Linked DNA regions of Homo sapiens: regions 1, 2, 3, 4, 5 and 6 are each linked to region 7. The links are contacts of gene promoters, found by promoter capture Hi-C in blood cells and fetal thymus (Javierre and others, 2016). All regions are on one chromosome and are shown on one strand. The core of a region is centred on a gene start or on the middle of the fragment in contact, and the rest is flanking DNA. Distances in the headings are between cores, read along the strand shown.

Region 1 (3,552 bases), core at 933-3,432, 280 kb after region 7:
CCTTGGCCTTCTGCCACAATTTTAAGTTTCCTAAGGGCTTCCAGCCATAGAGAACTGTGAATCAATTAGACCTCTTTTCTTTATAAATTACCCAGTTTGGGGCAATCCTTTATAGCAGTGTGGAAATGGATTAATATATGTGTCAAGAAAATTTTTAAGAAGTCATACAAGCATCCAGATCACAGCACCTCATGTTTCCCAATTTCTTTCTGCTGATTCAATGCCACATAAAGTCTTTTATTTTGTCTTAGTCAGCTCTTCTGTTCCCTTCAGCACAAATTTGAACCTTCCCTGGTTTAGTCTTTTCAATTCCTCTCTCTCTCTATCTCTCTCTCTCCCTCCCTCCCTCCCTCCCCTTTCTCCCTCTTCTTCTCCCTCTCTATGTCACTCTTTATCATTGTCTGGTAGAAACTTTCTCAATTAATTTCTCCCTGCCTTGCAGAATGACTCTTCATTTGCACCTAGCTTTCTCTATTTTCATTTTATTCATTCAAATACCCAATTTCTATTTACGGAGAATCTTCATTGTGTTAGTGCTCAAGATACATGATGAACAGAGCAGTACAGGACCTTGTCCTCATGGGACTCTCCTCATTTGCTAGTGGGAGAAGTAAAAATAAAACAGTCAAAGAAACAATATAGAGACTATGGTAGATCTATGAGTCAGAGTAACATCACCACTTGATCAAAAAGATCATGGGCTGGGAATGCTTAGCTTAGAACAATGGTCACTAAGAAGGTGAAATTTTAAGCTGACACCAGAAGAATAGAAATGATACACACCTGCAAAGAGCATAGAAATGAGGGTTCCAGGCAGAACACACGGCAGGACAAAAGTCAGAAGCAGGACGAGTTTGCTATGTTTTCATAACTAAGAGTAGCAGCTGATGGCTGGAACTTAGAAAGGGGGAAAATGACATGAGTGAGATCACAGAGGTCATCAGGGACATGGTCATGCAGAAATTTCTAGGCCAAGATGCAGAGTTTATAACTTATTTTATTTGCAGTAGAAAGCAATTCAAGGATGTTATGTTACAAGAAGGTATGATCTGTTTTTTTTTTTGTTTTTGTTTTTGTTTTTTTTTAATCTGACTTCTGTGTGGAAATGTCGTAGTGTCAACTTTGGATTAAGAAACTCAAGTTAGGCTGGGCATGGTGGCTCACGCCTGTAATCCCAGCACTTGAGGAGGCCGAGGTGGGCTGATCACCTGACGTCAGGAGTTCAAGACCAGCCTGGCCAACATGGCGAAACTCCGTCTCTACTAAAAATATAAAAATTAGCCGGGCATGGTGATGTGTGCCTGTAATCCCAGCTACTCAAGAGGCTGAGACGGGAGAATCACTTGAACCCAGGAGGCGGAGGTTACAGTGAGCTGAGATAGCACCACTGCACTCCAACCTGGGTGACAGAGCAAGATTCCATCTCAAGAAAGAAAAAAGAAAAAGAAAGAAAAAGAAACTCAAGTTAGAGGGCAACTCCAACAATCTTGGTGAAAGCTAAGCAAACTATCAGGATGGTCTAAGTCTGGTCTGCCACATGTCTGTAAATAAAGCTTTAGCAAAACACGGCTGCAATGATTTGCACACATTTTACATATGGCTACTTTCACACTGTAATGACGGTGTTGAATAATTGTGAAAGAAACTGTATATCCTGCAAAACAACAACAAAATTACTTTCTGGTCCTTTACGGAAAGTTTGGCAACCCTTGTTCTGGATGAAAAATTATGACGGATTGGGCTAGGATGATATCTATTGAGACATAGAGATGATGAAAGAGTCTCTATATATTTCACAGTTACAACCTCCAGGACATTCTGAAGAGTTTGGATACTGGCAATGGAAGATTCAAGAATGTTTCCTTGTTGTTTGATGGAAACAACTCTGTATGGGGATGCCATTGATTGAGATATGAAAGAATGGGGAAATACATGTTTACACAGCAGTGGAATAAAAAAAAAATCCTCTTTTAGACGTTTAAAATTGTAAATTCCTGTGAAATATCCAAGTGAAAATATCATGGAACAAGTTGTTTATGATTCTGGAACTCAGGGAAGAAGTTTGTGCTGAAGCTATGTGTGTGAGAGACATCACATAAGGAATGACTTGTGGAATCCACCTAGAGAGAGAGCTCACATCATGGTCTCAAATGGTGCATTGAGGACCCCAATATTTAGTGATCATCAGTCTCACTGTTTTTCCTCATGTTCAATTCATTTTCTTCTTCCTGCATTACCCAACTCATTTTTCATCTTCTACAGCACCTGGCTCAATCCTTCATATCAATTTTCCCACAATCTTATAACAGCCCTGCAAAATAAATGTTATTATTTGTGTATACATATAAGGAAAAAAAGGTCCCAGAGAGATTAATCAACTTGTTATAGACACTGTAAATGGTAGTTTCTGGTTACAAGGCCCATAATCTTTTTGCTCTGTAACTTTGCTTCCCAAAGAAACTGCTGATTATCAGTGGGATGTCAGGAATAACTTTTGGTTACTTTGCTGCTCACTCCCTCCTGAGGAGCACCTTGTGCATAAAAGCCTCACAGAACTGGCTTTCTCCAGGGAGATATTGAAAGAGACTTCATGCAGATTCTTTTACCCTAACAGCTTGCTAAAGACAATGATACAATCAGTTACAAATAACAAATGACAATTTAAACAGAAAAGAAGTATATTTTAAAAAGACACTCAGAAGCTCACATAAATTTTAGGAGGGCCAGAGAGCAAGTCTCAGAGGATGCACATCGAGAACGATGCCCAAATTCATGTAGCAGAACCAGACTGGTGAAGGTAAAGTAAGCTTTTCCCACAGGTCAGAGACACCATGGCTTGCATCGCTGACACTCAACATGCAACACTGGGCAGTGGATGCTTTTATTATAGCTGCTGCTGCAGCTACTGCTAAAACAAGTTATAGCTGCTGTCACTGCCACTACCTGCTGCTACAGTTACCCATCTAGGTGGGTCTCACCATAAACCACCTTCTTCATTTTGTGTTGAAACCTATCAGGGACTTCTGATACATCTCCTGAGACACTTATTATTTAAAGGCATGAGAAACTGCACTGAGCAAAGGTGGGGTTTTCCTATTCCTCTTCATCTATCTGGTGATATCATCCTAACTATAAAACACTAATTTTGTAATAAGCAAACAAATTCATCCTGATTGATATGGAGGTCAAAATTACTGCTTTTATAACTGGCCTTAAATAGACAATTAAGAGTATTATAATCAATAGACATTTACATGCTGTTTTTCAGAATTCTTTTTGAATTGGTGATATATTTGGATAATGGGATCTTGTAATAACTCTCTTGCCCACTCTTTACCAATAGTCCTATTATGCAACAGATGTCCTAATGTCACTAATCTCTAATAAAGCAATCCCCAAGACTTATTCTAACACTTCCATGAATCACTGATTAATTTAATAATTTGTCTTGTGAATAGCCAACATTCACTTTATGTAGAGAAAGTACCATAATCCTATCCATGAATGACCCTTCAATATACCCTGCTAATACATATGCAATGAAACTTTCCT
Region 2 (3,618 bases), core at 476-2,975, 500 kb after region 7:
TGAATGAGCTGGCAAGGTGAACGTTTGGGGGAATATCATTCTGGGCAGAGGGATCAGCAAGTGCAAAGGCCCCAAGATGAGAATCTGTCTGGAGTGGCCAAGGAACACCAGGGAGGCTGGTGGTTGCATGAAGTGAGGGAAGGGTGGGAGGAAATGAGATGAAAGAGGTAACAGAAGACCAGTTGCATCCAGCCTTTTAAGCCATTGTAAGGATGTTGGCTTTTAATCTGAAAAACAAGAAGACATTGAAGAGTTCTGAGCAAAGAGGAGAGATGGTCAGGTTTGCATTAAAACAGTTTCTGCTGTTGAGAGTAAACAACAGATACAGGGAGGCTTTTAGGAGGCTGCTGCAATAATCCAAGTGAGAAATGATGATCATCTCAAGAGGAGCATCTCAAGACATAGAGACACTGAGAGAAAGATAGAATAGAGGTATGGTAAGAGCCAGTGTTCCCACTGCCAGGGCCCACCTGCCACAAAGGGTGAGATAAGTCAGGAGCATTCCTTACCACAGCTGTTTTCCCAGTGGGAGACACAGGGAGGAGTTTCCAGGCAAGAAAGCGCTGAGTCACTCACCAGCACATCTGGTCTCAGATCTTGATACCCAGCTAGAAGGGCGGAAAGGTAGAGGGCTCCTCCCCTACAAACTTTCCTGGCCAAAGTCGGCCATTGTCAGCTGTGTGGGGCAGGCCAGGAGAGAAGCTCCCCTGCCACAGTAACAATGAGCCTTTGCTTACTGTTGCTTCACCCAGCCAGCTGGGATCTTTGACTTCTGTGGTTGCCTTTAATAGTCTAAACAGCCCCGGCAAGTAGGACAGATCACCTTCATTTCACAGCTGTGGAAATTCAGGGATACTAAGTGACTTACACAAGGGAACACAGATTTGGAGAGTTGGGGCACTGGTGTCCCATCCCATGCCCTGGGGACACAGGAGGGAGTAGTGTATAGAGAGATGGTATCAGCCACACACCAGTGCTTAATTTAGGTTGGTTAAAAATGTTGAAATACAAAAAGGAATATGAAACCAAATTCCTGTTTCGTGGCTGCCTCCTGCTACAGAACACTGTTCTCACCATTTTTGTCCTCAGTCATTTCCCACCTTTGGTTATTTATTTATGAATTAGCAACTTCAACATTTGCTGATATTTTAAGAATGCTTCCACTTCCAATGACTTATGTTAAGTTAAAGTGACAGAACAGTAAAGATTCCATTAAACTATTTCTTTCTATCTCATACCTTTATGAAAGTACCATTATCACCTTTTACGTTAAAAACTCTAAGACTGATTGTAATTAATTTTTTTTTATTTTTAGGGAACAACTTAATTCTTTATTGAAGACCTATAACATTTTTTATGAGAACCAGAAAAATCTGCATATTTTATATGGAGAGGTAAGCCCACTGAAGAAAGGCAATCCGGTGTTATTCACACACACACATGCGTGCACACACACACACACACAATTCTGGAAGAAACAGGTGAAAGTTTAACTTGATTATGATTCTTTTAGACTTGGGCTTGGAACACTTGTGACTTTCTAAGCATTTTTGAGATAGAAAAGCATTTAAAAATTTTAATGACATATTTTCTTTCTATTTTAAAAATAGAATATGAATATTTTAACAGCATTTACACTGAAAATCTATCACAATACTTTCTTACAAATGCGTCAGAATGTATATAGAAAGATATTCATTGTGATGTCATTTGTAATGCAGAAAATTGAAGACATCTCTATCAATTAGGGATTATTCAAATAAATTATGATGCATCTGTAATGTCAAATTTGATTTGGGTTTTAAAATGAATGCATTAGATTCCAATAGATGTGCACTATATCAAAATAATAAAAATTTTGAAATATTAAAGAAAGAATTCAGGAAAGTCCTGAAGCTAGAAAGCATTTTTCTAACTTTTAAGTTCAGGGGTACAAGTGCAAGTTTGTTACATAGGTAAACATGTGTCATGGTGGTTTGTTGTACAGATTATTTCTTCACCCAGCTATTGAGCCTAGTACTCATTAGTTATTTTTCCTGGTCCTATCCCTCCTCCCAAATTCCACCCTCTGATAGGCCTCAGTGTCTGTGGTTCCCCTCTATGTGTCCATGTGTGCTTATCCTTTAGCTCCCACTTATAAGTGAAAGCAAACAGTATTAGGTTTTCTATACCTGCATCAGTTTGCTAAGAATGATGGCCTCTAGCTCCATCCCTGCAAAGGACATGGCCTTGTTCTTTTTTATGGCTGCATAGTATTCCATGGTGTACATGTACCACATTTTCTTTATCCCATCTATCATTAATGGGCATTTAGGTTGATTCCATGTGCTTGCTGTTATAAATAGTGCTGCAATGAACATATGTGTGAATATGTCTTTATAATAAAATGATTTATTCTCCATTGGGTATATACCCAGTAATGGGATTGCTGGGTCAAATGGTGTTTCTGTCTTTAGGTCTTTGAGGAATCAACACACTGTCTTCCTCAATGATTAGATTAATTTACACTCCCCAGCAGTGTATAAGGGTTCCTTTTTCTCCACAACCTCACCAGCATCTGTTATTTTTTGACTTTTTAATAATAGACATTCTGACTGGTGTGAGATGGTATCTCATTGTGGTTTTGATTTGCATTTTTCTAATGATCTGTTATGTAGAGCTTTTTCATATGATTGCTGGCCACATGTATGTCTTATTTTAAGAAGTGTTTGCTCATGTCCTTTGCCCACTTTTTAATGGGGTTGTTTGGTTTTTTCCCTTGTAAATTTGTCTAAGTTCCTTGTAGATGCTGAATGTTAGATCTTTGTCAGATGCATAGTTTGCAAAAATATTCTCCCATTCTGTAGATTGTCTGTTTACTCTATTGATAGTTTCTTTTGCTGTACAGAAGCTCTTTAGTTTAATTAGATCCCATTTGCCAATTTTTGGTTTTGTTGCAATTGCTTTTGGCATCTTCATCATGAAATCTTTGCCCATGCCTGTGTCCTGGATGGTATTACCTAGTTATCTTCCAGTGTTTTTGTAGTTTTACATTTTACATTTCGATCATTAGTCCATCCTGAGATAATTTTTGTATATGGTGTAAAGAAGGGATCCAGTTTCAGTTTTCTGCATATGGCCAGCCAGTTATCCGAGCACCATTTATTGACTAGGGAATCCTTTCCCCTCTGCTTGTTTTTGTCATATTTGTTGAAGATCAGATACTTGTAGATATGCAGTCTCATTTCTGGGTTCTCTACTCTGTTCCATCAGTCTGTGTGTCTGTTCTCGTACCAGTATCATGCTGTTTTGGTTACTGTAGCCCAGTAGTATAGTTTGAAGACAGGTAGTGTGATGCCTCCAGCTTTGTTCTTTTGCTTAGGATTGCCTTGGCTATTCAGGCTGTTTTGGATTCATATGAATTTTAAAATAGTTTTTTCTATTTCTGTGAAGAATGTCAACAGTAGTTTAATGGGAATAGCATTGAATCTACAAATTGCTTTGGGCAGTATTGCCATCTTAACAATATTAATTCTTCCTATCCATGATCATGGAATGATTTTCCATTTGTTTGTGTCATCTCTGATTTCTTTGAGCAGTGACTTATAGTTATCTTTGTAAATATCTTTCACTTCCCTT
Region 3 (3,320 bases), core at 449-2,948, 260 kb after region 7:
GTACCGTTTGATCCTCTTTTGCTGTGTAAGAAGTCAACCTTAAATTTAGTGGCTTAAAATGACAGTTTATTATTTTGATAATTCTACACGTTAATGTGAGATTCTTCTGCTAAGCTCAATTAAGTGGGTGCAGTCAGAAGAAACTGAAATGGATGAAAATCAAAACTGGCCTCATTCCTATGAGAGGTGGTTGGTGTTGGCTGCTGGCTGAGATTTCTGCTAGGGTACCTGGGTCCTTCTCTTCCTCTTTTAAATAGCATTATTTTACTTCTGAGGAATAAACAGAAAGGATGAAGGGAGGGAGAGAAGGAAAGGGGAGAGAAGAGGAGAAGAGGGAAGGGGAAAGAAGAAAGAAAATAGAAAAAAAGTCAACACAAAACACAAGCCCCTCCACTCTCCTCCTTCTTTCTTACTTCTCCTTTTCCTTTCTCCTAGTCCCTCCCCTCACCTCTCCTCCCCTTTCTTTCTCTCCCCTTATTAGAAAATCTTTGTTCTGTGGGAAACAGTATATTTGCTGTAAAGAGATCTTAACTCAGACAGAAAGCTCTTCATTTTTATAATTTCCAGATTTATAAGGATCTTGCATAGGGTCAGGTATGTAACAAGATTATCAATAAAGGTTAATAAATTGATATTTGATTGAAGAATGTTTATATGAAGGAAAATACATCATAATTTTTGATAGTTACCATGTACTTCACAAAAAAATAGAATATACAGCTTTCAAAAGCTTCTATAAAAAGACTCATAGAAAAAATTTTAGGAGTACTAATAATTAGTCATGCATATGTAAAAAGAATATAAATAAATTAAGAAAAAATAAGTATGTTTAAACTACTAAGTTCTCAGTTTTCTCATTTGTAAGGGGGAGTTTGAACTAGGAGTCTTGGGAAAGAAATTATTAATAATATTTACCAAGAATCTACTTTGTTCCAGGGTAGTGCCTGTGAGATAGCTATTATACTGATTTTACAGGTGAGGAAGCTGGGGAAGGTAGATGTGAAACAAATTGTCAAGTTCACATAGCTGGAAATACACAAAACTAGATTTGAAATGCAATTGCTCTAATTCTGTACTGCACCACAAAATATAAAGAAGTATAATTAGCTTCTCTTGCTGGAAGTAAGTCAACTAGTTTTCTCTTTATCTAACCCTAGAGGTAGATTAAAAACAAACATAAATTTATGTGTTAGAGAAACGTCTCTGTTAAAAATACAAAAAATTAGCTGGGTGTGGTGGCAGGCACCTGTAGTCCCAGCTACTCAGGAGGCTGAGGCAAGAGAATGGCATGAACCCAGGAGATGGAGCTTGCAGTGAGCTGAGATTGCGCCACTGCACACCAGCCTGGGCAACAGAGCGAGACTCCGTCAAAAAAAAAAAAAAAAAAAAAGTGGATTTTCCAGAGAAGCGTCCTTGCAACTTATCTATGTTTCAGAAACAGAACTTTGAAATTTGTAGAAACAAAATTATACACCCAAACTCTAGGTCTTTCTATGTTCTTATCTCACTCCACATATTTGAGGTATGAACAATCCTTCTTAGGAATATAACATTAATTTTTCTGACTAAGAATGAACCAGGACTGTCAGCCAAAATCCAAATCATGGTACCTTCTCCTCCTCTTCCTTGATTTAGTCAGGGAGGCAACTAGAAATCCCCAAGTGCTCCTTCCATCTGGTAAATTTCTCATTTTGTAACATACAGGAAGGTATTTTGAAGTTATATACAACATGAGAGTTATCCACAGCAATTATTTTCCTTAAGCAAGAATTAAAATCATGATAGAAAAACAAAGCCACTAGTCATATTTTATCATAGATCTTGTCATACCTTCAGGAATTGAAGGATTATATGAATGCGTCACACATAGAGGCAAACAGGAAATTCTGGTATAATGAAGGACATTAATTATACATTTAAAATTGTCTGGATTGGAGCAGTAACAGAGTAGATTTTAGCTGAGCATTTGTTCAATATCTAGTGACTTTATACATAAGATAGAGTTTCAGACGGATAACAGAGTGAAAATAGTATTTAGGGGTTAGTATGAAGAAACTAGAAGACTTATCCCTAGGATATTTACATTAGATTAAGTTTCCCCAAATATGTTAGTCCTTGAGTTTGCTAGTAGAAAGATCAACTAGGAATGGTTGAAAGAGTGAACAGTAGCTATCATTGAGTTGCTTGTATAGGTTACTCTTCAGTAATATACTGTAATCTATTTTCTCTATAGAGTGACCATTTGCGGAATGGGCCTGACAACTAGAATTGCAAGAATATTAGAAATCATGTTTCATTCTATTTCTATGAACAAACTAAACTTACAAGTGTTGCTTCTTAAAAAAACAGAGCTTGATGATAAAAACAAACAAACAAACAAAAAAACAAACAAACAAAAAACCATTGAGACAAGCCTGGCCGACATGGTGAAACTACATCTCTACTAAAAATACAAAAAATTAGCTAGGCGTGGTGGTGCATGCCTGTAGTCCCAGCTACATGGGAGGCTGAGGCAGGAGAATCACTTGAACCTGGGAGGCGGAGGTTGCAGTAAGCCGAGATTGTGTCACTGAACTCCAGCCTGGGTGACAGTGAGACTTGGTCTCAAAAAAAAAAAACAAAAACAAAAAACTAACCAGCAATGTTTATTTCCTTATGAAGCTTATATTTCACCTGTACAAAGGGCATTTAATATTCTTTAATCTTTTATAATCAAGCATTTTTCAATAAGTATTTTGGAGTTAATGTGACATAGCAGGGATTGTTTTAAACACTGAAATTTAGAGCTCATTTTTGTAATTTGGTTTGCTTTCTAGTATTTCCCCAGAATTACTGTATCATCCATAAGTTCAAAAAAAATACCATTTGAGAGAGCAAAAAGAGACCACAGAAGTTTAATGCATTTTAAAAAATTAGAGATATTTTGTACTTTTTTATTGTTGAAAAAATGATTAGAAAACCCATCTCTGAAGCTACTTTTTAAGTTTTTTCATATCTTTGTGTCTCTTTCTCTCTCTGTTATTTAAATATATCAATATATAATAATTAAAAAATATTAATCCAATTTATATTTTATATATAAAGAGAGAGATAAAACATACAGGAAAGCCTAGGTTAGATATACTAAAGTATACAAGTACGTGCCAATATAAACATATATAATATATTAATCCAGCTGCAGTGTGAATGTATGTATACACATACTAATTCGGTTAGTCTTCTTCGTTTCATTTTCTTGCTTTTCCTAAGAACAGGTATTTTATATGAAACGACACTTTTAATACTAGAGAAACAGAGAGACTTGTTTAACCAGATCACTC
Region 4 (3,642 bases), core at 693-3,192, 410 kb after region 7:
TTAACGTCTTTATCATGAAATCTTTGCCTGTTCTTACGTCCAGAATGGTATCGCCTAGGTTGTTTTCCAGGGTTTTTATAGCTTCAGGTTTTATATTTGTCTTTAATCCTTCTTGAGTTGATTTTTCTATATGGCGTTTGAAAATAGTCCAGTTTCAATCTTCTGTATATAGCTAGCCAGTTTCCCAGCAACATTTATTGAATAGGGAGTCCTTTCTCCATTGCTCATTTTTGGAAGCTTTTTCAAAGATCAGATGGTTATAGGTGTATGGTCTTATTTCTGGAGGCTATATTCTGTTCCATTGGCCTATGTGTCTGTTTTTGTATCAGTACCGTGCTGCTTTTGGTTATTGTAACCTTGTAGTTTAAAGTCAGGTAACATTATGCCTCCAGCTTTGTTCTTTAACTTAGGATTGCCATGGCTATTCAGGCTCCTTTTTGGTTCCATATAAATTTTAAAATGTTTTTTCTAGTTCTGTCAAGAATATCAATGGTAGTTTGATAGAAATCACATTGACTCTGTAAATTGCTTTGGGTAATATGGCCATTTTAATGATATACATTCTTCTTATCCATTAGCGTGGAATGTTTTTCCATTTGTTTGTGTTATCTCATTCCTTTGAGCAGTGTTTTGTAATTCTCATTGTAGAGTCCTTTCACCTCCCTGGTTAGCCACATTTCTAGGTTATTTATTTGTTTATTTATTTTGTGGCAATTGTGAATGGAATTGCATTCCTGATCTGGCTCTCAGTTTGGCTGTCATTAGTGTATAAGAATGCCAGAGATTTTTGTATGCTGATTTTGTATCCTAAAACTTTGCTGAAGTTGTTTATCAGCTGAAGAAGCTTTGGGCCAAGACTACAGGGCTTTCTATATATGGAACCATGTCATCTGCAAATAGGGACAGTTTGACTTTCTTTATTCCTATTTGGATGCCTTTATTTCTTTCTCTTGCCTGATTGTTCTGGCCTGGACTTCCAATACTATGTTGAATAGGAGTGGTGAGAGAAGACATCCTTGTCTTGTATCAGTTTTCAAGGGGAATGTTTCCAACTTTTCCGCATTCAGTATGATGTTAGCTGTGGGTTTGCCATAGATGACTTATTATTTTGATGTTTGTCCCTTCAATACCTAGTTTACTGAGAGTTCTTAACATAAAAAGACATTGAATTTTATCAAAAGCCTTTTCTGCATCTATTGAGGTAATCATGTGGTTTTTGTCTTTAGTTATACTTATGCGATGGATTACATTTATTTATTTGTGTATGTTGAACCAATCTTGCATTCCAGGGAAAAAGCCTACTTGATCATTGTGGATTAACTTTTTGATGCACTGCTGGATTTGGTTTGCAAGTAGTTTGTTAAGGATTTTTGCATTAATATTCATCAAGAATATTGGCCTGAAGTTTTCTGTTTTTGTTGTGTCTCTGCCAGGTTTTGGTATCAGAATGATGCCGGCCTCATTGAATGAGTTGGGAGGAGTCCCTCCTTCTCAATTTTTAAAATTAGTTTCAGTAGAAATGACACCAGATCTTCTTTGTACATATGGTAAAATTTAGCTCTAAATCCATCTGATCCTGGGCTTTTTGGGGGGTTGGTAGGGTATTTATTATTTGTTCAATTTCAGATCTCATTTTTGGTGTGTTCAGGTAATCAAATTCTTCCTGGTTTAGTTTTTGGAGGTTATATTGTCCAGGAATTTATCCATCTTTTTAAGGTTTTCTAGTTTGTGTGCTTAGAGGTGTTCATAGTAGTTTCTGATGGTTATTTTTATTTCTGTGTGGTGAGTGGTAACATTTCCTTTGTTGTTTCTAATTGTGTTTATTTCAATCTTCTCTTTTCTTCTTTATTAGTTTAGCTAGCAGCCTATCTATCTCATCAATTTTTTCAGAAAAACTACTCTGGGCTCACTGATCTTTTGAATGGTTTTCCATGTCTTTATTTCCTTCAGCTCAGCTTGGATTTTGGTTATCTCTAATCTTCTGCTAGCTTTGGGGTTGGTTTGCTCTTGCTTCTCTGATGCTTTCAGTTGTAATATTAGGTTGTTAATTTGAAATATTCCCTTTTGTTGTTGGTGTTTAGTGCTATACATTTCCCTGTTAACACTCTTTCAGCTGTATCCCAGAGATTCCACTATGTTGTATTTTTGTTCTCATTAGTTTCAAAAAAGTCTTGATTTTTGCCTTAATTTCATTATTTACTCAAAAGTCACTCAGAAGCAGGTTGTTTTATTTCCATGTAATTGTATGGTTTTGAGCAATTTTTAAAGTTTTGACTTCTATATTTATTGCACTGTGGTCCAAGAGTGTGTTTGTGTGATTTTGGTTCTTTTGCATTGCTGAGGATTGTTTTATGTCTGACTGCTAGTCAATTAATAGAGTGTGTGCCATATAGCAATGAGAAGAATGTATATTCTCTTGTTTTGGGGTGGAGAGTTCTGTAGAGGTCTGAAAATATAATTCTCTACGATCAGATTTATTTTAATGTTGAGTTCAGGTCCAAATATCTGTTAATTTTTCACCTCAATGATCTGTCTAATATTATCAGTGGACTGTTGAAGTCTCCCACCATTATCGTGTGGGATTCTAAATCTTTTTGTAGGTCTCTTAGAACTTGCTTTATGAATCTGGGTTATCCTGTGTTGGGCGTGTTATATTCAGATTTTTAAAATAGTGCCTGTTACCAGATTAAAGGTACACTGTACTCCTCTGTACTATCTTTGCTATTTCCTATGTGTTCCACAATAAAAAAATAAAAAAAATATAGTTACTGACATAAATATTATCTAGTAATTTAAGATAGCATTCCTCTGAAAATTAAAATTCAGTTGGCAACTGAGTACATAATAGAAAATACATCATTCATGATCTGTCTTCAGTGTTACTTTATGGTTTTAGAAAATACTTTAAATAAATCATTCAAGTTATACTTACTGAAATATAAATATCAGAGTGGTAAATGTCAACATATTAGAATAAATATTTTCTTTTCCTGGCTCCTAAATCTAAGTGAATCTAGAAGTTCATCGACTAAGAAGCTTTAATATGACAACTGGAATGGGAATATATCAAGTGTGATAACATCTCAAAGATAAATGAGGATTGCATAAGAAAGGAGATATGGGCCAATTATTGCTTACCTTTTTTGAAAAGTGCCTCATTTCAGTCCCCATAAAGATAGTCAGAGGAGGACATGGGAGAGGAAAGAGAACTGATATTCCTCTCAGGGGTACATGGCAGAGCCAAGGCTAGATTCTGCATGGCAGTCACCAACAATCATCTCATCTTTGAGCACATTCTCCTTCCTGCTTCTGTGTCCTCTCCTCTCTTCACTTACGTCTCCTTCATGTCCAGCTCGCCTCATCTGCCCATGCAATCAATCCATCAGTCACACAAATAGAAATTGTAACAGTGTATGATATAATCTATAAATGGAAGGTATCATTAGCAATAATGCTCCACTTAGAAGTCTTGGGGTCTCCCCAGGATCTTATGGCCAACACAGAGCTCTTTCCCTCTGCAAACCAGCTCACACCCAAGGCTTCCTCAGTTGGGTACATGAGACCATTATTCACCTAGTTGCTCAAGTCAAACACCAATAACTTATCCTCAGTTTCTCCCTATCCTTGCCACAATGCCACTTA
Region 5 (3,722 bases), core at 975-3,474, 480 kb after region 7:
TTTACATTTATTCTACTATTTCTCACGTGTATAACATTTTATTATAAACTATTAAATGTTGTGGTCAATCAGAGAGAGAGAGAAAGAGAGAAAAGAGTGACACAGAGAGACCCAGCAATGATTACGAAAAAATTAACTTTTCCAGTTATATTCAAAATAGTGTAACATGTATGTAACAAGTCTTTTAAGCATGTAATTAAAAGTTCTATACCTGATTCTTGTTTTAATTTCCTAAAATAAGAAGGATCCTTTACTTTTAACTGAGATAGAAACCCAATGCTGACAGTCCATTTGCTTATATAGATTCATTGATTGCAATGTAGGTGGGGAATTCACGGTTACTAGAGTTACATGGGCTTCATATAAAAGCTTAGATTTTTAAAATATTCAAGTATAGGCCATTTGAAAACAAAACCTCTGAGAAAGGAATTCTGAATATTTTCCTTTCACATTACAGTTAGAGAGTTATTCTGTTGCAAAAATTAATTTGTATGTTTAAAATGATAAATTATAGTGATTTCATCACTTTCATAACATAATCTCAACAACCAAACTTAACTAATACCACTGCTTTCAGGAGTAGAACATGAAGTGTCTCCTATTTAAGTAATAAGGATGTTAACTTAAAGGAAAACTTCATCATCACCTAGAGCCTAGTAAAGGAGCTTAAGAGGAGAGAGTGTCGATTCTTTTGCAGCAAATATACAAACAGGAAAAATGAGTCGTGATCTTTGTGACGTCAGCCTAAGAATTTCTACTGGGAAGCTCAGGTGAAGCAGAAAATTTTTGAGTTCCACCACACCAGTAATTCCAGAAGATGCTGTCGGCAGACTGAGCAGCGCCTCCCAGACCCAGTGGTGGCAAGATGCCTTAAGTGCCTTAATACAAATTTGCTTCTCTGACCGTTTCTGCTTTCTTTATCTCCCTGAGGGCACCTTGAGCAGAATAAAATGCATGGCATTAGTACCATGTAAATATGCAATAGAACAGTAAAGTTTTGGCATTTCCAATTAGATTCCACTTGAACTGAGGGCAGTGGCATGCTCACATAGAAGTGTGTTTGATTCATATTCTGCTTAGTCCTCTCTTAGATTCAATGATTATAATACATTATTTCTATCTCAAAACCAACAATCACTGACTGCAACCAATATTACTTAATTAAGTGATAGTTTGTATATATGCCAACTCTTGACCTTTACTGTCTCTGCAAATAAAGCACATTTTAAGAAAAAGTATGGAGCCAAATGTTTCCCAGAAACCATCACTCTGTTAACTCTTTTCCTTTTTTGAGAGAACTAGATACTGGATGGAATTATAGATGCTTTGTCTCATTTTCTTGAAGTGATGTAATTGCATATAACTCTGCTCTTCTCTACTCCAAGGTTCCAGGTCATAACTTTGAGAAAACAGTTTCGTTTTGGAGATGAATACATAATTGTAACTTTCTATTGCTTCTTCAAGCTGAAACAATATTTTATTAAAAAGACTCTCCGTGTGTACAGCCCTTAACATACTCTTATCTCATAATTGAAATACACACTTGCTATTCTAGTGTGATACTTTCTGTTCTTTTTTTAAGTAGCTTTTACTGGGGACGTGGGTGAGAGAGATGTAACATATATTCCTTGTCTATGATTTAGACAGTACATACAAAATAAAAAAAGAAATAATTATCACACATAATCTCTTAGCTCTTAATTTTACCATTAATATTATAATATACCTCTCTGTATGTTGGATGTATTCAATATTTTGTGTATGTTTTATCTATATGCCTGCATATATTCACTCACTTTAGAAGACACAAAAATGAAATAGCAATAATTCTGTCCTAAAGGACCTAGTAATCAAATTAAGTAAAATAAAATATGGTTAGAGAGAGAAAGCAGTAAGTAATTAGAAAGCTACAGAAAATTTCCTGTGAAATTTCAGAAGCAAGAGAAATTGTCTTTGGCTGGGAAATACAGGGAAGTTAGCACCTGTATATATATGTATAGATAGATAGATAGATAGATAGATAGATAGATAGATAGATAGATATAGATATATGTATATATATTAGTTCTTTGTAAAATCATTAGCATTATGACACTTTGTGCACCTTGTGGCCTCAGAAATAAGAGGCTATAGATATAGATACAGGCTATACTTTCTGTGCCTAGCACGGTAGCAGGTGCAGAGAAGGAACTCGTGAAATATTTGTTGAATTTACAAACGAGTGAACCCAATTTTCCACTTTTAGATATGTAACCATTTAATTAACTCATGGTTGGATAACAGGAAGTTACTTTAAATGACTGACCCATTTGATTTAATTTGTACTAGAATTCACTTCCTGTCCTCTGGCCTCATTCTGGTCACAAGGCAACTGGTAAGTCCAGGCAAGCCCACCTCTAGGCAGGAATGCAGAGCAGGGGGAGGTGAACCACGTTCCAGCATTGCTGGAACGCTAATGCTGCCCAACACTGCCTCCTCAGGCTCCATCCAGATCTCATTGGCTTGTTCAGACCAATTCTACCTCTCCTATACTTCTAGTGCTGTTGATTTCTCCAGGACTTAATTGCTGACCTATCTAATTCCCTGTTTCTCCAGCTTCATTGTTTCTGGACAAAATGAAAAAGTAAATAACCAAACTTATTAAATAATGATCTTATTTTACACACAATCTAAGTCAATAATCTCTGGCCCCAGGGCCTACATAGATTTGTAACAACCATCTTCCTCCTCAAGTTGTAGTTTATTATGTTCTACCAAAATTACTGAACATCCCAAGTAAGACCTCCAGGCTTCTAGAACTGTAATTTTTTCTTTCTTCATAAATTCTCTCCCTCGTTGCTATTCATGACTTCTCTGTTATTCTCCTCTTAAGTCCTTGAGAAAATTTGCTCAGATGCTTATATCTACCAAGTCTTTATAATTTAGGAGATTTTCACAAGGGCCCTAGCAGGTTTTAGTTTGCTATGAATCATGGTGAATGGGAATGGGAAGATGAGGATGAAAAACTATTTGAATTCATAGATCTATGCCTCACTTCATTGTTTTTGTTTGTTTATTTGTTTTGCTCTTTTTTTTTTTTTTTTTTTGAGACAGAGTCACACTCTATCACCCAGGCTGGAGTGCAGGGACACAATCTTGGCTCACTGCAACCTCCATCTCCCAGGTTTAAGTGATTCTCGGGCCTCAGCCTCCCAGGTAGCTGGGATTAAAAGTGTGTTCCACCACACCCGGCTAACTTTTGTATTTCACTTCACTGTTAATACTAACAATGGGACTTTTACCAAAGCATGTTCTTACCTTTCAGGTATTTAAACTGTTTGAATATTTTATTTACCCAATTTTTAGATCAGACATGAATAATATTATTTCCTACTCAAATATTATGTGCTGCCTATGAATGAAAATTTTATCCTGTTTTTATTTTCTTACATTAAATTATATTCAACTTTCTTCCTTCCTAAAGTCAGAAAATAATATAAGAGCCTTGGAAACCCTTTCATCACATCTTCTGAAGTCTTCTGAAGCTGGCTATGAGTTACCTCAGCATAGATCAACAGTGTGTCACTATAACTACATTGCAATTATTTGCCCTCTTTAATGATATCTTTGATATTTCTTATGAATGCAAATAAAGAGTGAGCCAGTTGGAAAGCTACTGCAATGATTTTTCAGTCCATCACTGCCAATTTTCACTTTGTAATTATAAGAAGCTGCTATCAGTG
Region 6 (3,368 bases), core at 655-3,154, 460 kb after region 7:
ATAATATGGATGGAACTGGAGGTCATTATGTTATTTAAAATAAGTCAGACAGGGAAAGTCAAACTTCACGTGTTCTCACTTATTTGTGAAAACTAAAAATTAAAACAATTGAACTCATGGAGATGGAGTAGAAGAAGGGATATCAGAGAATAGGAAGGGTAGTCAGTGGGGTTGGTGGGAACAGAGTGATGGTTAGTGGGTACAAAATAAGTCAGAGGGAATGAATAAGACCCGATGTTTGCTAGCACAACAGGGTGACTATAGTCAAAAGTTATTTTAAAATAACTAAGAGAGTATAATTGTATTTTTTTAACATAGAGGATAAATGCTTGAGGGAATGGATACCCCATTTGCCCGATGTGATTACTGTGTATTGCATGCCTGTATCAAAATATCTCATGTAACCCCAAAATATACACACCCTACTATGTACTCACAAAAAATTAAAAATTATATATATGTTCATATATGACACATATATCAGCTAAATTTTTAAGTAAAAAATGGCAAGCTAATCCTAAAATTTATATGGAAATTCAAAGAACCTAGAAGAGCAAAACAACTTTGCAAAATAATAATAATATTAGATAATTAATACAACCTGACTGCAAGGTATATTATAAAGGAAGCGTAATCAATGTTATGTGGTATTGAGATAATGTTAGGCAAATGTATCCATGAAACAGGATAATTTTCTGGAAAAGATCTACATACAAATGAACAGATTATTTTCTACAAAAGTAGCAAAATTCAGTTGAGAAAGTGTGGTATAGTAAATTTTATTCACACAATCTAAATTAAGCCTCCATAAAGTTTATTTAAACAGAAGAAATAGGTCATAGTGCCCCCAAAATTTGGGAACTACTCAAGATTCCTGGGATTGTTGGACCAACATGAAATAAAAGCAGAAAAAGCACAGAACATTAGATGCCAAAAGCAAAGGTAAACTGTGAAAATTAGAGGGGAAAACTACATAGCCTAAATAAGAGTGGCTCAGATAGAGTAGTATTTATTTCACTGTGTGTTTTCATAATATACATGCAGACACTGCCCATAAGGTATATAATTACATCACTCAAGTGCTTACCTTACTTCTGTCAGTATACCATGATCTGCTTGACATCACAAGAATTTAGCCCAGGAAGGATCCCTTATTGCAAACAGGATATGCTCCAGGAGCTGTTTGTTGTGGCTGTAATCAACATAAACTCAACTGTCTCCTATTTTCTGAAACTATGCAAGCACCTATGACCCACTTGTAACTAGAGTTATTAAGGATGGGACAGAAAGCAGTTGTGAATCCATCTAAAAACTACAATCAATGGTTTATAACATTTTTAAAACTATTTTTGAATTTCAATAGCTTTGGGGGTACAAGTGGTTTTTGATTACATGGATGAATCGTACAGTGGTGAAGTATAAGATTTTAGTGCACCTGTAACCCAAGTAGTATTCAGTTTACCCAATATGTAGTATTTTATCCTCAGCCCCCATCTCATCCCCTCCTTCTAAATCTCCAAAGCCCATTATACCACTCTGCATGCCTTCGTGTACCCGTAGCTTAGCTCTCACTTATAAGTGAGAATATATGGTATTTGGTTTTCCATTCCTGATTTAGTTCACTTAGAATAATGGCCTCTAGCTCCTCCAAGCTACTGCAAAATATATTTTTTTATTCTTTTTTATGGCTGACTAGTATTGCATGGTGTGTATATACCATTTTATTTATCCACTCATTGGGCAACGAGCACTTAGGTTGGTTCCATGTCTTTGCAATTGTGAATTGTGCTGCAAGAAACATACACAAGAAAATGTCTTTTTGATGTAATGACTTCTTTTCCTTTGGGTAAATACTAGCAGTATCTGGTATATCTACCATTTGCTGAATCAAATGGTATATATACTTTTAGTTCTTTAAGAAACCTCTATAGTGATTTCTATAGAGGTTATTCTAATTTACATTCCCAATAGCAGTGTGTAAGTGTCCCCTTTTCACCAAATCGATATCGATACCAATATCTATTGTTTTTTGACTGTTTAATAATGGCCATTCTTGTAGAAGTAAGATAATATCTCACTGTGGTTTTAATTTACATATCTCTGATGATTAGTGATGTTGAGCATTTTTTTCATATGTTTGTTGGCCTTTTGTATATCTTCTTTCATGAAATATCTATTCATGTCATTTGTCCCTTTTTTAATTGAATTTTTTCTTGCTGATTTGTTTGAGTTCCTTGTACATTCTGGATATTAGTCATTTGTTCAATGGTAGTTTGCAAATATTTTCTCCTATTCTGTGGGTTGTCTGTTTATTCTGATGAATATTTCTTTTGCCTAATGGAAGTTTTTTTAGCCTAATTAGGTCCCATTTATTTATTTTTGTTTTTGTTGCATTTGCTTTTGGGGTCTTAGTCATAACTTATTTTTCTAGGCCAATGTCCAGGAGAGATTTTCCTTGGTTATCTTCTAGAATTCTTATGGTTTCAGGTCTTAGATTTAAGTTGATTTTTGTATAAAGTGAGATATAAGGGCCCAGATCATTCTTCTACATGTGGTTATCCAGTTTTCCCTGCACCATTTATTAAATAAGGTGTCCTTTCCAGAATTATGTTTTTGTATGCTTTGTTGAAGATCAGTTGCTTAGAAGTATTTGACTTTATTTCTGGGTTTTCTGTTCTGTTCCATTAGTCTGTGTGTCCACATTTATACCAATACCATGCTGTATTGGTAATTATAGCCTTGTAGTATAAATTGAAGGCAGGTAATATGATGCCTCCAGATTATTTCATTTTGCTTAGGAGTGCTCTGGCTATTCAGGCTCTTTCTTGGTTCCATATAAATTTTAGGATTGTTTTTTCCACCTCTGTAAAAAAAAAAATGTGTCGGTATCTTGATAGGAATTCCATTGCATCTGTAGATTGCTTTGGGCAGTATGGCCATTTTTATGATATTGACTCCTCCAATCCACAACGTGGGATGTTTTTTCATTTATTTGTGTCATTTGTGATTTCTTTCTGCAATGTTTTGTGGTTCCCCTTTTAAAGATCTTTCACCTCCTTGGTTAAGTATATTCCAAGAATTATTTTTTGGCGGCTATTGTAAAATGAATTGAGTTCTTGATTTTATTATCAGCTTGGTCATTGTTGGTATATAGCAATGCTACTAATTTTTGTACATTGATTTTGTAACCTAAGACTTTACTGAATTTATTCATCAAATCTAGGGGTCGTTTGGAAGAATCTTTAGGGTTTTCTGGGGGTCTATGATTATATCATCAATGAACAGTCATAGTTTGACTTCCTCTTTTCCAATTTGAATTCCTTCCTTCCTTCCTCTCTTTCTTTCCTTTCCTTTCCCTTCCCTTCCTT
Region 7 (3,503 bases), core at 511-3,010:
GTAATGGCACTTATCCCATCATGGGGGCCATACCTTCATAACCTCACCTAAACCTAATTACTTCCCATGGTCCTGTCTTCTAATATTAGCACATAAGGGAGTCAGGGCTTCATCATCTGAATTTGAAAGAGACACAAACATCCAGCCTATATCAGTAAGGTTGTGAAACACCACTTCTATTTTGTTATTTAACAAATATTTACATAACACTTTACATGCACTGATGGTTTACACATATTAACAATCAATACTTCTAACAACCCCGTGAGGCAGGCACTATTATAAGCTCTTCTACAGGGGAGAAACATGAGCAAATAAAGCATAAATTACCAAGGGTCATGAAGCAAGTTAGTGGTATGGCTGAAACTTCAGCCCTGACATCCTTATCAAGTGATCTCTACAGCTGCAGCATCCAGGGAACACTCTATTCCTAAGGTAGTCCCACTTCTTCATCCTCGTGCCACTCCCAGCCCTTCTCATAGCAGTGGCAGAATATCTCCATATCCCTGAAGTCTGCATCCACCAGGAAGAATTAAGACAGAGTATTGTAGGCCTACAGCTTAATTTTTAAAGAGAGGGGGTCATTGAAATTGATGATGAAAAGTCAGTAATCCAGTGAGAAGGCATCAGCTAAACAGGCTTGGAAATGCTTTATTGACATTCCTCTAGAACTAAAATTTCCTCGATAGCTGTTTCTCTAGAGGGAACCAATCCCAGGATGCTGGTAAATACATATGGCATGGAAATGCAATTATGTTAGCAATCTAGTATGTATATATCAGACATGTCTGCTTGTGCTTAGAGTAGTAAACAAGCGGAGTCTCATTCCCTGCTCCTTTTCTGGTGGTGTCTATGGCCTTTTCTGCCCAGGGACAGCACTAGAAAAGGCAGACCTCCTGAGCCCAACAGGCCCCTCGCAGCTCCCAGTGACTTCCATGGATCAAAACACAGACTTCCATACAACAAAAAATTGATGCTACTGGAATTACTAGAGTTCGAGATGTTCCAAGATTTCAAAGAGAGAAAGGATGGGGGATTGCAACACTGTTAACTAAAATAAACACTGAATTGACCCTTGGCAATGGTCTGTTCCCGCACCCAACACCTGGCTCCACTACGTTGAAACACACACACACACACACACACACACACACACACACACACACACACGTGATATTTGCTTTTAAGATCATAAAACACCAGGAAGGAGACAAAAGCTCTTATGCGTCATCTGAGATGACACATGTACTGTTAAAGCGTGCGTTTATTTCAAACATTAATGAAATTTGCAGAACCCAAACTAAAGAGAGAGGATAGATAAGACATGCTGCAGTTCTTGCCCTAACTTTCAATCCCAACAACTGAAATGTCTTCCAGAGAAGTAACTCCCCCCGGTAAGGATGTAGCGCGGTCCCTACGTGGGTCTAAGGGATCTGACCCACGACGCACTGCACTGGGTTCACGAAGCGCCTCCTCGCAGGCGGTTATCTCGGTATCTCTGAGAGCGGCGGGCTCTCGCTCCCGCTCCAGGGATTCGGGGCAGAAAGAGAACATCCCACAGTTGGCGGGAGTTACGCAAGACAGTCAGACCCGGACGTCACTCGTGAGTGCCCCGACCCCCCTCCACCCCAGAGGCGGGGCCATCGCCTTCCTTCCGAACTCGGGATCGATCTGGAGCTCCGGGAATTTCCCTGGCCCGGGACTCCGGGCTTTCCAGCCCCAACCATGCATAAAAGGGGTTCGCCGTTCTCGGAGAGCCACAGAGCCCGGGCCACAGGCAGCTCCTTGCCAGCTCTCCTCCTCGCACAGCCGCTCGAACCGCCTGCTGAGCCCCATGGCCCGCGCCACGCTCTCCGCCGCCCCCAGCAATCCCCGGCTCCTGCGGGTGGCGCTGCTGCTCCTGCTCCTGGTGGCCGCCAGCCGGCGCGCAGCAGGTGGGTCCCGGCGCCCTGGGGTCCCCGGGCCGGACGCGGCTGGGGTGGGCGCCCCGCGCCGACAGCCCCGCTCAATCAGCGAGTCTCTTCTTCCCTAGGAGCGCCCCTGGCCACTGAACTGCGCTGCCAGTGCTTGCAGACCCTGCAGGGAATTCACCTCAAGAACATCCAAAGTGTGAAGGTGAAGTCCCCCGGACCCCACTGCGCCCAAACCGAAGTCATGTAAGTCTCGCCCATCGCTGCCGCTGCCACTGCTGGGGTCCCCGACTCTCCCGCTGCCCCAAACCCTGTCCTCAGCCCGACCTCCTGTCTCACGAGATTCCCTTCTCTCTGCAGAGCCACACTCAAGAATGGGCAGAAAGCTTGTCTCAACCCCGCATCGCCCATGGTTAAGAAAATCATCGAAAAGATGCTGAAAAAGTAAGTTATAATTTCCATGTACACAGGCGACTGGAGCTGTTGGTCAGAAATACTGGCGTCTGCCCCCTAAAAAGTAAATCAGGAAAACCCAGGGTTAGCTGCAGGACTGAAAAAATTATTATTTTCACAAAGTTGCCATTAAGGTTATTAATCTGTTCTGGTGCCAGAGGATATTCCCAGTGCCCAGGGTCACCACCCAGGTTCTTCCCTCCTGCCAGTGAATGTAGGTAAAACTGCTTTCATGTAAGGTCTCATTGGAGTTTGCCAGTTGTGCTGAAGTGTTTTCCACCTGTTAAAAAACACAAGCTTCATTTCCCCTAGTTCCTACTGACTTTCAGACCTGAAAAGCAGACCCCCTGGTTTTTTGTAAAAGTTTAGGGTTGAAGTGCAGAGATTTCACAATAATATTGCACTGGGTATATAACTGGTTGCCACCACCTATTAGCCATGTCACTCAGAGACAATATTATTTAGTTTATCTGAGACTCAGCAAAACAGGGAAAATAATGGTAGCTACATCATGAGGTTGCTTTGAGGCTCAAGTGAGGCCCAGTATGACAAAGAGCAATAGGCTCTGGCTGTTTTAGCCAGTAAAACAGTGTAGACTGCCACTCCTCCACCCCACGTCACCCCCATTCCTAAAAGAGCATCCCAAGCCTAGAGGTCCTTGCCACACAGCACAGCTGTCACAGGCAGTACCCACTTGGGTGCCAGGCTGGGGAAACTGCATTCAGAAAACTCTAGAGCCTGGGGAAACAGGACAGGAGAAGACTGTTGTGCAGTCAGCTTTCCTGAGCACCTACTCAGGGCACCCATTTTCTCATTACAGTGGCAAATCCAACTGACCAGAAGGAAGGAGGAAGCTTATTGGTGGCTGTTCCTGAAGGAGGCCCTGCCCTTACAGGAACAGAAGAGGAAAGAGAGACACAGCTGCAGAGGCCACCTGGATTGCGCCTAATGTGTTTGAGCATCACTTAGGAGAAGTCTTCTATTTATTTATTTATTTATTTATTTGTTTGTTTTAGAAGATTCTATGTTAATATTTTATGTGTAAAATAAGGTTATGATTGAATCTACTTGCACACTCTCCCATTATATTTATTGTTTATTTTAGGTCAAACCCAAGTTAGTTCAATCCTGATTCATATT

The links. The method cuts DNA at HindIII sites, captures the fragments that hold promoters and counts their contacts. A CHiCAGO score of 5 or more calls a contact.
Region 1: a fragment that was not itself captured here is called in contact with the fragment with the promoter of CXCL2 in region 7 in 3 of 17 cell types (monocytes, M0 macrophages and M2 macrophages); the score reaches 6.1 in monocytes.
Region 2: a fragment that was not itself captured here is called in contact with the fragment with the promoter of CXCL2 in region 7 in 2 of 17 cell types (fetal thymus and neutrophils); the score reaches 9.3 in fetal thymus.
Region 3: a fragment that was not itself captured here is called in contact with the fragment with the promoter of CXCL2 in region 7 in 1 of 17 cell types (monocytes); the score reaches 5.1 in monocytes.
Region 4: a contact is called between a fragment that was not itself captured here and the fragment with the promoter of CXCL2 in region 7, in 7 of 17 cell types (M0 macrophages, M2 macrophages, monocytes and 4 more). The highest score is 8.4, in M0 macrophages.
Region 5: a fragment that was not itself captured here is called in contact with the fragment with the promoter of CXCL2 in region 7 in 2 of 17 cell types (neutrophils and fetal thymus); the score reaches 6.9 in neutrophils.
Region 6: a fragment that was not itself captured here is called in contact with the fragment with the promoter of CXCL2 in region 7 in 1 of 17 cell types (neutrophils); the score reaches 8.0 in neutrophils.

What each region holds. Positions count from the first base shown.
Region 1 is chr4:73,819,709-73,823,260 of GRCh38, reverse strand. No RefSeq gene overlaps it. Among named protein-coding and RNA genes, the nearest start is that of CXCL6, 15 kb to the left of the region's middle. The HindIII fragment of the contact is 1,254 bases long and covers 1,556-2,809 here.
Region 2 is chr4:73,596,416-73,600,033 of GRCh38, reverse strand. It overlaps RASSF6 (Ras association domain family member 6), which reads left to right. Exons shown (of 11, transcript NM_177532.5): 3 at 1,316-1,394. Among named protein-coding and RNA genes, the nearest start is that of RASSF6, 22 kb to the left of the region's middle. The HindIII fragment of the contact is 4,104 bases long and covers 1-3,618 here.
Region 3 is chr4:73,839,970-73,843,289 of GRCh38, reverse strand. No RefSeq gene overlaps it. Among named protein-coding and RNA genes, the nearest start is that of CXCL6, 5.0 kb to the right of the region's middle. The HindIII fragment of the contact is 1,931 bases long and covers 733-2,663 here.
Region 4 is chr4:73,684,693-73,688,334 of GRCh38, reverse strand. No RefSeq gene overlaps it. Among named protein-coding and RNA genes, the nearest start is that of UMLILO, 24 kb to the left of the region's middle. The HindIII fragment of the contact is 2,192 bases long and covers 847-3,038 here.
Region 5 is chr4:73,614,543-73,618,264 of GRCh38, reverse strand. The region is part of intron 1 of RASSF6 (Ras association domain family member 6); the gene reads left to right. Among named protein-coding and RNA genes, the nearest start is that of RASSF6, 4.0 kb to the left of the region's middle. The HindIII fragment of the contact is 3,705 bases long and covers 372-3,722 here.
Region 6 is chr4:73,636,822-73,640,189 of GRCh38, reverse strand. No RefSeq gene overlaps it. Among named protein-coding and RNA genes, the nearest start is that of RASSF6, 18 kb to the right of the region's middle. The HindIII fragment of the contact is 4,804 bases long and covers 1-3,368 here.
Region 7 is chr4:74,097,452-74,100,954 of GRCh38, reverse strand. It overlaps CXCL2 (C-X-C motif chemokine ligand 2), which reads left to right and starts at 1,760. Exons shown (of 4, transcript NM_002089.4): 1 at 1,760-1,934; 2 at 2,033-2,156; 3 at 2,271-2,354; 4 at 3,184-3,503. The coding sequence starts at 1,835. The coding sequence ends at 3,199. The HindIII fragment of the contact is 3,135 bases long and covers 1-2,298 here.